3 separate regions of the Homo sapiens genome follow, and all the other regions are linked to region 2. The links are contacts of gene promoters, found by promoter capture Hi-C in blood cells and fetal thymus (Javierre and others, 2016). All regions are on one chromosome and are shown on one strand. Each heading gives the region's core, a stretch centred on a gene start or on the middle of the fragment in contact. The rest is flanking DNA. Distances are from core to core; before and after follow the strand shown.

The links. Contacts are between HindIII fragments. The CHiCAGO score rates a contact against its expected background, and 5 or more counts as called.
Region 1: a fragment that was not itself captured here is called in contact with the fragment with the promoter of STT3A-AS1 in region 2 in 1 of 17 cell types (naive CD8 T cells); the score reaches 5.7 in naive CD8 T cells.
Region 3: a fragment that was not itself captured here is called in contact with the fragment with the promoter of STT3A-AS1 in region 2 in 3 of 17 cell types (non-activated CD4 T cells, naive CD8 T cells and M2 macrophages); the score reaches 10.1 in non-activated CD4 T cells.

What each region holds. Positions count from the first base shown.
Region 1 is chr11:124,942,062-124,945,228 of GRCh38, forward strand. LOC107984406 (a long non-coding RNA gene) reads left to right here. Exons shown (of 2, transcript XR_001748429.3): 2 at 1,339-1,529. Among named protein-coding and RNA genes, the nearest start is that of HEPACAM, 7.6 kb to the left of the region's middle. The HindIII fragment of the contact is 516 bases long and covers 1,242-1,757 here.
Region 2 is chr11:125,590,922-125,594,481 of GRCh38, forward strand. It overlaps STT3A-AS1 (STT3A antisense RNA 1), which reads right to left and starts at 1,647. Exons shown (of 4, transcript NR_132372.1): 1 at 1,497-1,647. STT3A (STT3 oligosaccharyltransferase complex catalytic subunit A) reads left to right here and starts at 1,931. Exons shown (of 18, transcript NM_152713.5): 1 at 1,931-1,997. RefSeq lists enhancers at 916-1,085, 1,203-1,797. The HindIII fragment of the contact is 3,144 bases long and covers 1-2,807 here.
Region 3 is chr11:126,252,835-126,256,427 of GRCh38, forward strand. FAM118B (family with sequence similarity 118 member B) reads left to right here. Exons shown (of 9, transcript NM_024556.4): 6 at 1,471-1,599. It also overlaps a transcript of SRPRA not described here. Among named protein-coding and RNA genes, the nearest start is that of SRPRA, 14 kb to the right of the region's middle. The HindIII fragment of the contact is 1,329 bases long and covers 1,028-2,356 here.

The DNA of each region.
Region 1 (3,167 bases), core at 250-2,749, 650 kb before region 2:
CCAGACAGATCACCAAAAAAGCTTAGGGTTTGACCAACCCCTAATGCACCAGTAGGAATTCCTCCTCCTGGTATAAGCTTTTACCCTCCAGGACCTACTCCCTGACTAAGCTCTGGATATGAAGCAGCCCTCTCTCCCCACTCCTTGGGCCTTCTAGTATTGGTGAAGGTATTTTCTTTCTTTCTTTCTTTCTTTCTTTCTTTCTTTTTTTTTTTTTTTTTTTGAGATGGAGTCTCACTCTGTCACCCAGGTTGGAGGGTTTCACCATCTTGGCCAGGCTGGTCTTGAACTCCTGACCTCGTGATCCACCCACCTCGGCCTCCCAAACTGCTGGGATTACAGGTATGAGCCACTGTGCCTGGCCTAGTGATGAAGTTATTTTCATTTTTATTTTTTGTTGTATAAATCTATATGCAAATGGTACTGGTGTTGTCTCTACCATAAGTTTGATTTCTCCTAATGGACAGAGGACGCAGGAGGCAAACACCAGCCAGAGAATTTGTAGAGCTGCAGCACATTGCCTGGGAAACAACGAGATTGTATGAGGCTTTGTGTTGAGAGGAGGCAGGGCCCAGCTCCTACAGCAAGCTCTGAATAAGAGACAGATTAGCTAGCTCCCTTCGGAACAAAACAAGCTTTCTGTATGCCTGGACAGTGAGGAATGGCCCTCCCCAAGAACATTTTCTTTTCTATTCGTTCTCTTTCTAAAGTTCTCCTAGGTGGCCCTACTCTGGGGGCCTCAGAAAAACATCAAATAGAAAGTAGAAATGGAGTCAAAAGGCTCCTTCATCCTGAAATTGGTTTTGCTGGCTGCAGATTTCTGTAAACATGAAGAGTTACTCAGATGAAAAGGGTTCTGCAGAGATATGGTGTCTCCACAAGATGTGGAGTTTGTTGGGAGAAATACATGATCCTGGGAGTGGCATGGGGTCCTGGGTAAATTTTGGAAGGGCAGCAAGGAGGGGCTCCCATTTCTCTGCTGAAAACAGGAGAACATCAAAGTCTTTTATACTGAGAGTAAATATTTGATTTTTGAATAGAATTCCGGCCTCCTCAGAAAGTGAGAGGGACTCAGGCTTGTGTCCATGGTTGCTAAACGTGCTCTATTCAGCCACTCTCCAGAGGAACAAAGAGGAGAAATTAATTGGTATTAAAGGGCTGGAAAGATCCAGCTTTTGCTGACCTATTTAAGATGCAGCAAGGACATTCTGGAGAATATCTCTGGAGTTCTGTTCTTGTAAAGCTTCAGTGCTTAAATACAAACAGGTTGAAAAATCATGGGGAAGCCACAAATTACACCCCAACTCATGAAAGCCTTCACTGTTTCCCTTCTCCTAGATCCTCAGATGGTGTCCACCCACCAACCGTGTCAGGGGAAGGATTCGCTGCCCTCTGCCGTCGTTCACCCTCCTACCAAAGAGGGAGGCTCAGAAATGGGAATCAGCTGGCCAGCATCTGATAATTGCCTACTGTGTGAAGAACACTCTATGTTCCAAACATTAATAAAAGTGGTGGGATGTGGAAGAGGAGGAAGGCGGCACATTCAAAAGTAATAGACGACACCATCCCTGGATCCCTGTCTAGGAGCTGAAATATATTATAGCTGGGAAGGCTGCACCTACATCTATAAGCAAGTATAATTGATAAAACATTTGCATTGCCCTTTACAAATTATCTTTTAGAATATTATTTTATTTAGCCTTCTAACAACGCTGTGCAGTGGGATTTTTTTTTCCATTTTTCAAGGAGGATCATGAAGCTTAGAGAGGTTAAATAACCTGCTCCAAGTCACACATTTTACAAGTTGGCACAGCCTAGACTCAACTGTGCTTCCTGTCTAATGTTCATAATGCTGTACCCCTGAAAGAGGTTTCCTTCACATTTGCAAGTTGGCACAGCTTAGACTCAGCTGTGCTTCCTGTCTAGTGTTCATAATGCTGTACCCCTGAAAGAGGTTGCCTTCAGCCAGGCCCAGAAGTAAAAACTAAGTAGGAAAAGGAGAGTTCTGAGACAAGATGTGAGAAAAGGGATCAGGCAGGTGACAGGACCATAAAAAAAAAAAAAAGCTTAGTAAGCAAGGGAAACTGGGCCCCCACAGGTTAGGCCAGGGACACTAAGAAGATAGATTTGTGATACACAGGATTCAATATGGGGAGGGACCACATTTCTTAAAAGGAGGCCCTAGCTAAGTTGTCAGCAGAGGTGTCTTGAAGACAGCCCCCAATTTTCCCCTTGTTGCAGTACTTACAGGATTTGGCTTTGTCTAGTTTAAAGATCCATGCCAAAGTCAGGCCTCCAAGATTCTGCATCTGGTTTGTGGCCCGACAAACTAAGGAATGTGATTTGTCAAGATCATTTGATTGTAAGTGACTGAAGTTCAACTGGAACTATCTGAAGCAAAAAGGGAAGAATTTCTTGCATTATGTAACAAAATTTTTCAGGGAGCAGGAATAATTGGAAATAAGACAGTATTTTATATCTGTGCTGTCAAATATAGTAGCCATTAATTAGCCCCGTGTGGCTAGTGGGACTGAGGAAATACATTATAAATTTCATTTAATTGTAATTAAACTTAACACATGTATCTAGTGGTTAACATATTGGACAGTGCAGCTTGTCATGCGGGCAGGAGAAGAAGACTCTTGATGGAACTAGTTAAAAAATAATCTTGGCAAAAGGCCATGGCTTAGGTCACATGCACAGCTCTGGATCAATCACTGTAGCAAGGAGACTAGAACACTATCCCAGGCTGGGCCATGTACTTAACCCCACAGTCACAGGTGGGGCCATTACTAGAAAAAGCGGGAGAAGGGATGCTGGGAAGACAAATCAAAATCTTCTAAGGTTTTATGACTCTATCTTGCTTCCTAAAAAAAAGTTAGCAAGCATTTACTGAAAGTCTATTATGCATGATATATTTTACATATGTAACATTACTTCTCACAAAACACAAACAAACCCTCAAGGGTCAATTGTTATTACATATGTTACATATCTAGAAATAAAGACTTGGATAATGTGACTTGACCACAGATAGTAAATTGCAGAACTGGAACATAAACCCAAGTTTAGCTCTAAAACCCCTTTCTCCACTGTAATATGCTATCCCCAAAGATTTGGGATATAGAGAATGTGACTATTAATAGTAGATAATTTAAATAATCATA
Region 2 (3,560 bases), core at 397-2,896:
AGCGATTCTCCTGCCTCAGCCTCCCAAGTAGCTGGGATTACAGGATCCTGACACCAAGCCCAGCTAATTTTTGTATTTTTAGTAGAGATGGGGTTTCACCATGTTGGTGAGGCTGTTCTCAAACTCCTGACCTCAGGTGATTCACCCGCCTCGGCCTCCCAAAGTGCTGGGATTACAGGCGTGAGCCACCGCGACCGGCCTTAATATTCTTAGGTTAATACTTAAAAAAAAACAAAAGAAACTTGAACACAATCTTTCTAATTTTAATGCCCCCCTCCCCGCTTTTTTATTTTTAAAGAGAAAAAACTTCTTTTTGAGACGGAGTCCAGCTCTGTCGCCAGGCTGGAGTGCAGTGGCACGATCTCGGCTCACTGCAACCTCCGACTCCCTGGTTCAAGTGATTCTGTGTCAGCCTCCCGAGTAGCTGGGATTACAGGCACGCGCCACCACGCCCAGCTAATTTTTCTATTTTTAGTAGAGACGGGTTTCACCATGTTGGCCAGGATGGTCTCTACCTCCTGACCTCGTGATCCGCCCGCCTTGGCCTCCCAAAGTGCTGGGATTACAGGGGTGAGCCACCGCGCCCGACCAAAACTCGTATTTTGAAGAAGCATTTACTCCAAGTTCTGTAATTCCTTCAGGCTCAGCTTCAGTTTCCTTTTGTTAAAGTAAAATTACATCGAACACTTACTACTAAAAACAAAACCAAAAAAAAGCAGATCTATTGAATCATAACGTCCTGGGGCGAGCCTGGTCATGTGGATTTTGAAAAAAATGCATGTGATTCTGAAGCAGTGATTTAAATAATGACCTTTCAATAAGTGGTGGGTTCCGTTCATGGGAGAATAGGAAACTGCGTGAGTGGTAGAGGCAACAAGTTCGAAGAGCTGCGAGACGTTCCCACTCTCTCTGGTGTAGCCTTGGCTCACCGAGGCGCGCAGGGAGTGGAAGTGCCTGAGGATAAAGGTGTACACGTGCGAGTCTGAGATGATGGAATTGCTGCTCAAACTTCGTCCCCTTCTCTGCCCTCAGCAAACTTATTGGGGGTCGGGGAGCGCGTGGGGTGCGAGAGAAGAGAGGCAAGTTAGGATAGGGAGAGCGGCTCTCTGGCCGGTATTTTAACAAAGGGCTGAACTGACTAAGCATGGCCGGGCTGCCTCCCGGTCTCCCGAGGAAGCCCGCTTGCTGCTGGGGAGGGCTGTGCCTCCGCGGCGGTGGCTGTCTCAGCTGGCAGTAGAAATGCTTCCAGCTTAGCCCCGACAACCCCTTTAGGCCTAGGCACGCTCTTTCACAAAACCAGGGGCTGTGAACTCTGTCAAGGTTCCCAGGTCCATCGCAGTTACCAAGGCACAGTAAAAGCTCGAGTCAACTATCAGGCACATCCTGCAAAAGACGAACTGTCTGGACCAGTCCGCGTTTGAGTTTTAATTGAGAATAAATAGGTAGAAAATGCTTCCCTCCTCTCCTTTCACCTTGTATTAGGTAACAATTTCTACCTTAAAAAAGACGGGAGACGAGCGGCTCCGCATTCCGAGTTACTGGGACTTGGAGCAAGGGCCTATTTCAGCGTAGTTTCCGCTTCTTGTCACATGACGGGAGTCAGTGGGCCGCGCCTTCCCACTGCGACTCCCCGTGGGTCCGCAAACCGACACGTCACTCCTCGGCCCTCAACCAAACTGCTTGGGGCACGTTCTTTCCGCGCTCTTGACTCCTACGCGCCGGCCTATGACAGCTCGGCGGGAGCATACAGACCTGCCTCTAGACTGCTAAGTGATAGCTGTAATGACCAATTAAAAACTTGAATCGCGGCCCGGTTTACGCCTCCGGATTTGACAGACAGTTCCGAGACCCTATCGCTCTCCAGAAGCGTCCTATTGGCCTGGAGCCAGCCAACGGGGGAGCGGTCCGGGAGGCGGACCCGGCTCCTGCCAGGGTTGGGTGCGCCGCTGAACGGATGGCTGAGGGAGCCCCGCGGATCGTTTAGGAAAGCCGGCCAGGTGAGAAGGCCGTAGAACGTAACTTGAAAATCAGCGGCAGGTGCAGTCCATGGCGTTGATGGGGCTGAACGAAGTGCAGGAGGCAAAACTCTAAATGGGGGTGGAGAGCAGAGCTTAGGGCCTTGCAGAGGAGGGGGCGTGGGGCGTGGTGTGGGGGCTTCCTGGATGGAAGGATGCGAAGGTCTAGGGAGGGAGGGTAAGGTGGGTCTTGAGAACAGAGCGTGGGAAAGACTGGGTCCTGGGACTAGTTATGGAGGGGAAGGCGCGTAGGATGCTGGGGTGATGAGTGTCCCGCGCTGAGGGGTATCAGAGGTGGTCAGTTCTTTGAGGGTGGGAAGAAGAGGGAGGTGGGACCCGCTGGAACGACCGGAAGGGAGAAGAGAGTAAAAGATCGTGAGAGGGTGTGGAAACGTGTGTAGGAAAACGGGGCTGGGGAAATTGCAGTCTGGGAAACTAGAGGCAGGGTGGCAGGAGATGCCACAGCTTGCAGGGCACAGTTGAGGAGAGCAGGTTGGTAAGTGTTTTAAGAAAGGTGTCTTTGCTCTTATTTGCTTGGCGGTGTGCGAAAGTGACCAAAGAGCACGAGATGAAATCTCCCTTACGGCCCTGCCCTCAATGACTAGCTCGTTTACTCAAGTTTTCAAGTAGAGATCCTAGCAGTCTCATTTTGGTGTGTGGCTCGTATCAACGCAGTGGTGTTAAGTTTGTTCCTATTTCAGGCATTCCAGAAAACAGCTGCAAACCCTGAGAGATATGGCTGGATTGTTGACCTCCTGGAGTAGTTAGGCCTTTATTTTTAGTTGCAAAGTAAGCTTTCCCTTTGGGACTATACTTAAACACATTTCTAAACTGCTCTTCTGGGACAGTTAATTATGGAGAACATGCTTGACTTCTCAGTGTTGGGGCTAGCATTCTATATGCCTTCCACCTAGTCCAGTGTTGTTGTTGTTTTGTTTTTCTCCTTTATTCCAATAATAGTGGGAAAAAAGATTCATGGAGGAGGATAGACAAACGTTTGTTAAGGGATACACAAGTACAACTAGATAGGAATAAATTCTAGTGTTCTATAGGATAACTATTATTAGGAGTATAATTAACAACAAAAATACACAATTTGTTGTATATTTTCAGATAGCTAGAAGAGTGGATTTTGAATATTCCTAAGACAAAAAAAATAAGGTGATGAATCTACTAATTATTTCCCGACTTGATCATTACACATTATATACATGTACCAAAATGTCACACTGTACTCCATAAATATGTACAATTATGTGTCAGTCAAAAAGAATAAAAGCAAAACATCTTGAATGGTGTTGCATATCCTTTGTTATAGTCGTTATAACTTAGCTCTTGATCACCTTGTAATTTAAAAAAGTAGGTCTGGGCGTGGTAGCTCACGCCTGTAATCCCAGCACTTTGGGAGGCTGAGGTGGGCAGATCATGAGGTCAAGAGATCCAGACCACCCTGGCCAACATGGTGAAACCCCGTCTCTACTAAAAATACAAAAATTAGCTGGGCGTGGTGGCGCACACCTGTAGTCCCAGCTTCTCATGAGGCTG
Region 3 (3,593 bases), core at 442-2,941, 660 kb after region 2:
GACCAGCCTGTCCAACATGGTGAAACCCCGTCTTTACTAAGAATACAAAAACTAGCTGGGAGTGGTGGTGCACGCCTGTAATCCCAGTTACTTGGGAGGCTGAGGCAGGAGAATCATTTGAACCCAGGAGGCAGAGGTTTCAGTGAGCCAAGATTGCGCCACTGTGCTCCAATCTGGGCAACAGACCAAGACTCTGTCTAAAAACAAACAAACAAATGATTGAAATTTTAAAACTAGCAGCTTCTATGCTATTTGTGATAAAATTTCCAAAGATTATGACCAAGTGTGTTCATGGATATCAGAAGCATAAGGACCTTTTAAAAGCTGAGGATATCTATCACATTTGATGTTTTCCTTCTCATTTCATCCTTGGGCCTCAAGATTTGCATTGTATTTTCAGCCCACATTAGGGGCAGTGTTGCAGTCTAATGGTTAAAGACATTGACTGGTAGTCAGAATGGGGCCTAGTAACATTCAAATTCTAAATCTCGGTGCCTCTTGACTACTTTCCTGATTCATAGCCTATTTCTCCAAAATGTGATAAGAATAAATGTATGCTGTCTCCAGTCCTTGGGAAAATGGAGCCATGGAATCAGGTGGCTATTGCATTCGCTGTTGTCTAAATGATTGTTCTTCGCTGGCAGCCTTTTAGGTTCCTCAGAGGTGACTGAAGTGATTTTTCTATCACTTATCTATTGCTGTACAAGTAATGGCCGTGAAACTTTGTGGCTTGTAACAACAAATATCTTATCTGCCCATGATAAAGTATATTAACAATTTGAACTGGGCTCAGTGACTCAGCCAGGCATTTTTTCTGCTGATTTTTGCACCCTCTTCACATACCTGCAGACATCTGATGGCCGCACCAGGGCTGAGTGATATAAGGGGACCATACTTCCCTGCAAGCAATTGGCCAGGCCATATATGTCCCAGCAGGCTAGCCCAGGCTTCTTCACTTTCTTCGCATGGCAGCTGGATTCCAAAAGTAACACAAGAGAAGTAAGACTTCTTGTGCCAACACTTTTCAAGCTTCTGCTTGTGTGTGTTTGCTAGTATCCCATTGGCTAAAAGCAAGCCATGTGGTTAGCCTGGAGTCACTCCGAAGAGGGGCCACACAAGGGCCTGGATACAGAGGCTTGATTTCTTGGGGCGATCACTGAAGCAGTTGTCCATAGCTCTCATGCATGCCACCAGTGCAAAGGGTCCCTGTTGTTTCTGCAAATTATGACAAATTGTGATTTTTGATGCTTACTTTCAAAGAGAAATCACCAAATTTGTTGCCATCATTCTTGACAGTCATTCCTGAAGTGGAAACTTAGACCACATCAGGTTTTGCATTCTTGTCCTATATCATGAAGCTAGAGAGTTTATGTCAGAAGTCTAGTCCTCAAAACAGCCTCTTGCCCATTGTGACCTTTAAACAGGTGCTCAGCCCTGCCAAGCTGGTTGGGCTATATGTGTGTTGTGCAGGTCCTCGAGTGGGCTCAGGAGAAGCGTAAGCTGAGCGTGTTGCATATTCACGGAGTCTACACCAACCCTAGTGGCATTGTCCTTCATCCGGCTGGATATCAGAACGTGCTCAGGAACACTGAAGTCATGGTGAGTGGGGCTGATCTTGCTGGTCTCAGGAACTCCTTCCTGGGAAATCTCTCTAAATATGCCATAGATCTTAAAGGGGAACATCTTCTTTTCATTAAGTGAAAACGGAAGGTCAGGGGCTAGGAGCAGTGGCTCATGCCTATAATCCCAACACTTTGGGAGGCCAAGGGGAGAGGATCACCTGAGGCCAGGAGTTCGAGACCAGCCTGGGCAACATAGCGAGACTCTTGTCTTTACAAAAATAAAATTAGCTAGGCATCATGGTGCATGCTGTCCCAGCTACTTGGGAGGCTGAGGCAGGAAGATTAGTTGAGACTAGGAATATAAGGCTGTAGTGAGCTGTGTCTAGAGCCACTGCACTCCAGCTTGGGTGACAGAGCAAGGCCCTATCTCTAAAAAAAGAAAGAAACTGGAAAGTCAGACGTTCTTCCTGTGCTTCTTAACTTATGGGTGTGCATGCTGTCTAGGAAATGTAGAATTTCTCTTAAGGTGTCAAACCCTATGATCTTTGTTTGTACTTAATTGACAACCAGCAGATGGCATGTCATCATTGGCATCATCTTCACATACAAAGGATACATTAGTACCCTTTATCATCATTTGGTTTATTAATAGCCCTCTCTGTGTCAGAAATAATTGAGGCAGCTTCTTAACAAACCAACCACTACTAGAGAATACATTCTAAAGAGACTTTGTATAAATGGCAATGGGCTTATATTGAATTAACCACATTTATTCACACTTACTCTTTGTGAAAAGCTTATTGATCTTTTGGGATGCACATTTTCGACTTGTTCAGATAAACATGTTCAAACCAGAAGTATTCGCTGCCCCCAGCTCTAAGAATCTTGTTTGCTGTTTTCAGGACTGGGTCATATAGATTATAGCATCTTTTAATAATGAGGCAAAAGACCGAGAAAATGTATTGTCTAAAGCACAAGGGACTTTTTTTTCTTTTTACCCATTCTTTCCCAACATCTGCCATAACTGCATCCATCTCTGACATTGAGTGATCCCTTAGGCAGTCATTTCTGTGTTTTTGTGTGTGTATATGTATACACACACACACACATACTGATGTTCTAAGTATCAAACGCCTTTCCTTGAGCAAATCCGATGATGGAATTATCTTCTCTGGTGATTCACAGTTCAGTTTGTGAGACAAAGGCAAATATGGTCCAGAAATGGAAGGATTAAGATATATGAAGACCTACTCTTTGCACAATGACCTCTGGGCACATAAATCTAAAAAAGTACGCCTGTAATCCCAACACTTTGGGAGGCTGAGGCAGGCAGATCACATGAGGTCAGGAGTTCCAGACCAGCCTGGCCAACATGGTGAAACCCTGTCTCTACTAAAAATAGGAAAATTAGCTGGGCGTGCTGGCAGGTGCCTGTAATGCCAGCTACTTGGGAGTCTGAGGCAGGAGAATCGCTTGAACCTGGGAGGCAGAGGAGGTTGCAGTGAGCCAAGACCATGCCACTGCACTCCAGCCTAGGTGGCAGAGCAAGACTCTGTCTCAAAAATAAAATAAAAATAAAAAAGTAAACTACTGGCCAAGTGCAGTGGCTCACGCCTGTAATCCCAGCACTTTGGGAGGCCAAGGTGGGTGGATCACTCGAGGTCGGGAGTACCAGACCAGCCTGGCCAACATGGCAAAACCCCGTCTCTACTAAACATTCAAAAATTAGCTGGGTGTGGTGGTGCACACTTGTAATATACTCGGGAGGCTGAGGCATGAGAGTCACTTGAACCAGGGTGGTGGAGGTTGCAGTAAGCCGAGGTCACACCACTACACTCTAGCCCAGGTGAAAGAGTGAGACTCCGTCTCAAAAAATATATAAAGCATAAAAAATAAAGAAGTAAACTACTGCACCAGTACACTGACACCAGCTCTATGAAACGCTGATTAGAGAGCCTACAGAAGAATGGCAGGTAAAGATAAAATTTTAGACCAATCATCAAGTTACAGCAATAAGCAAGAGATCACACT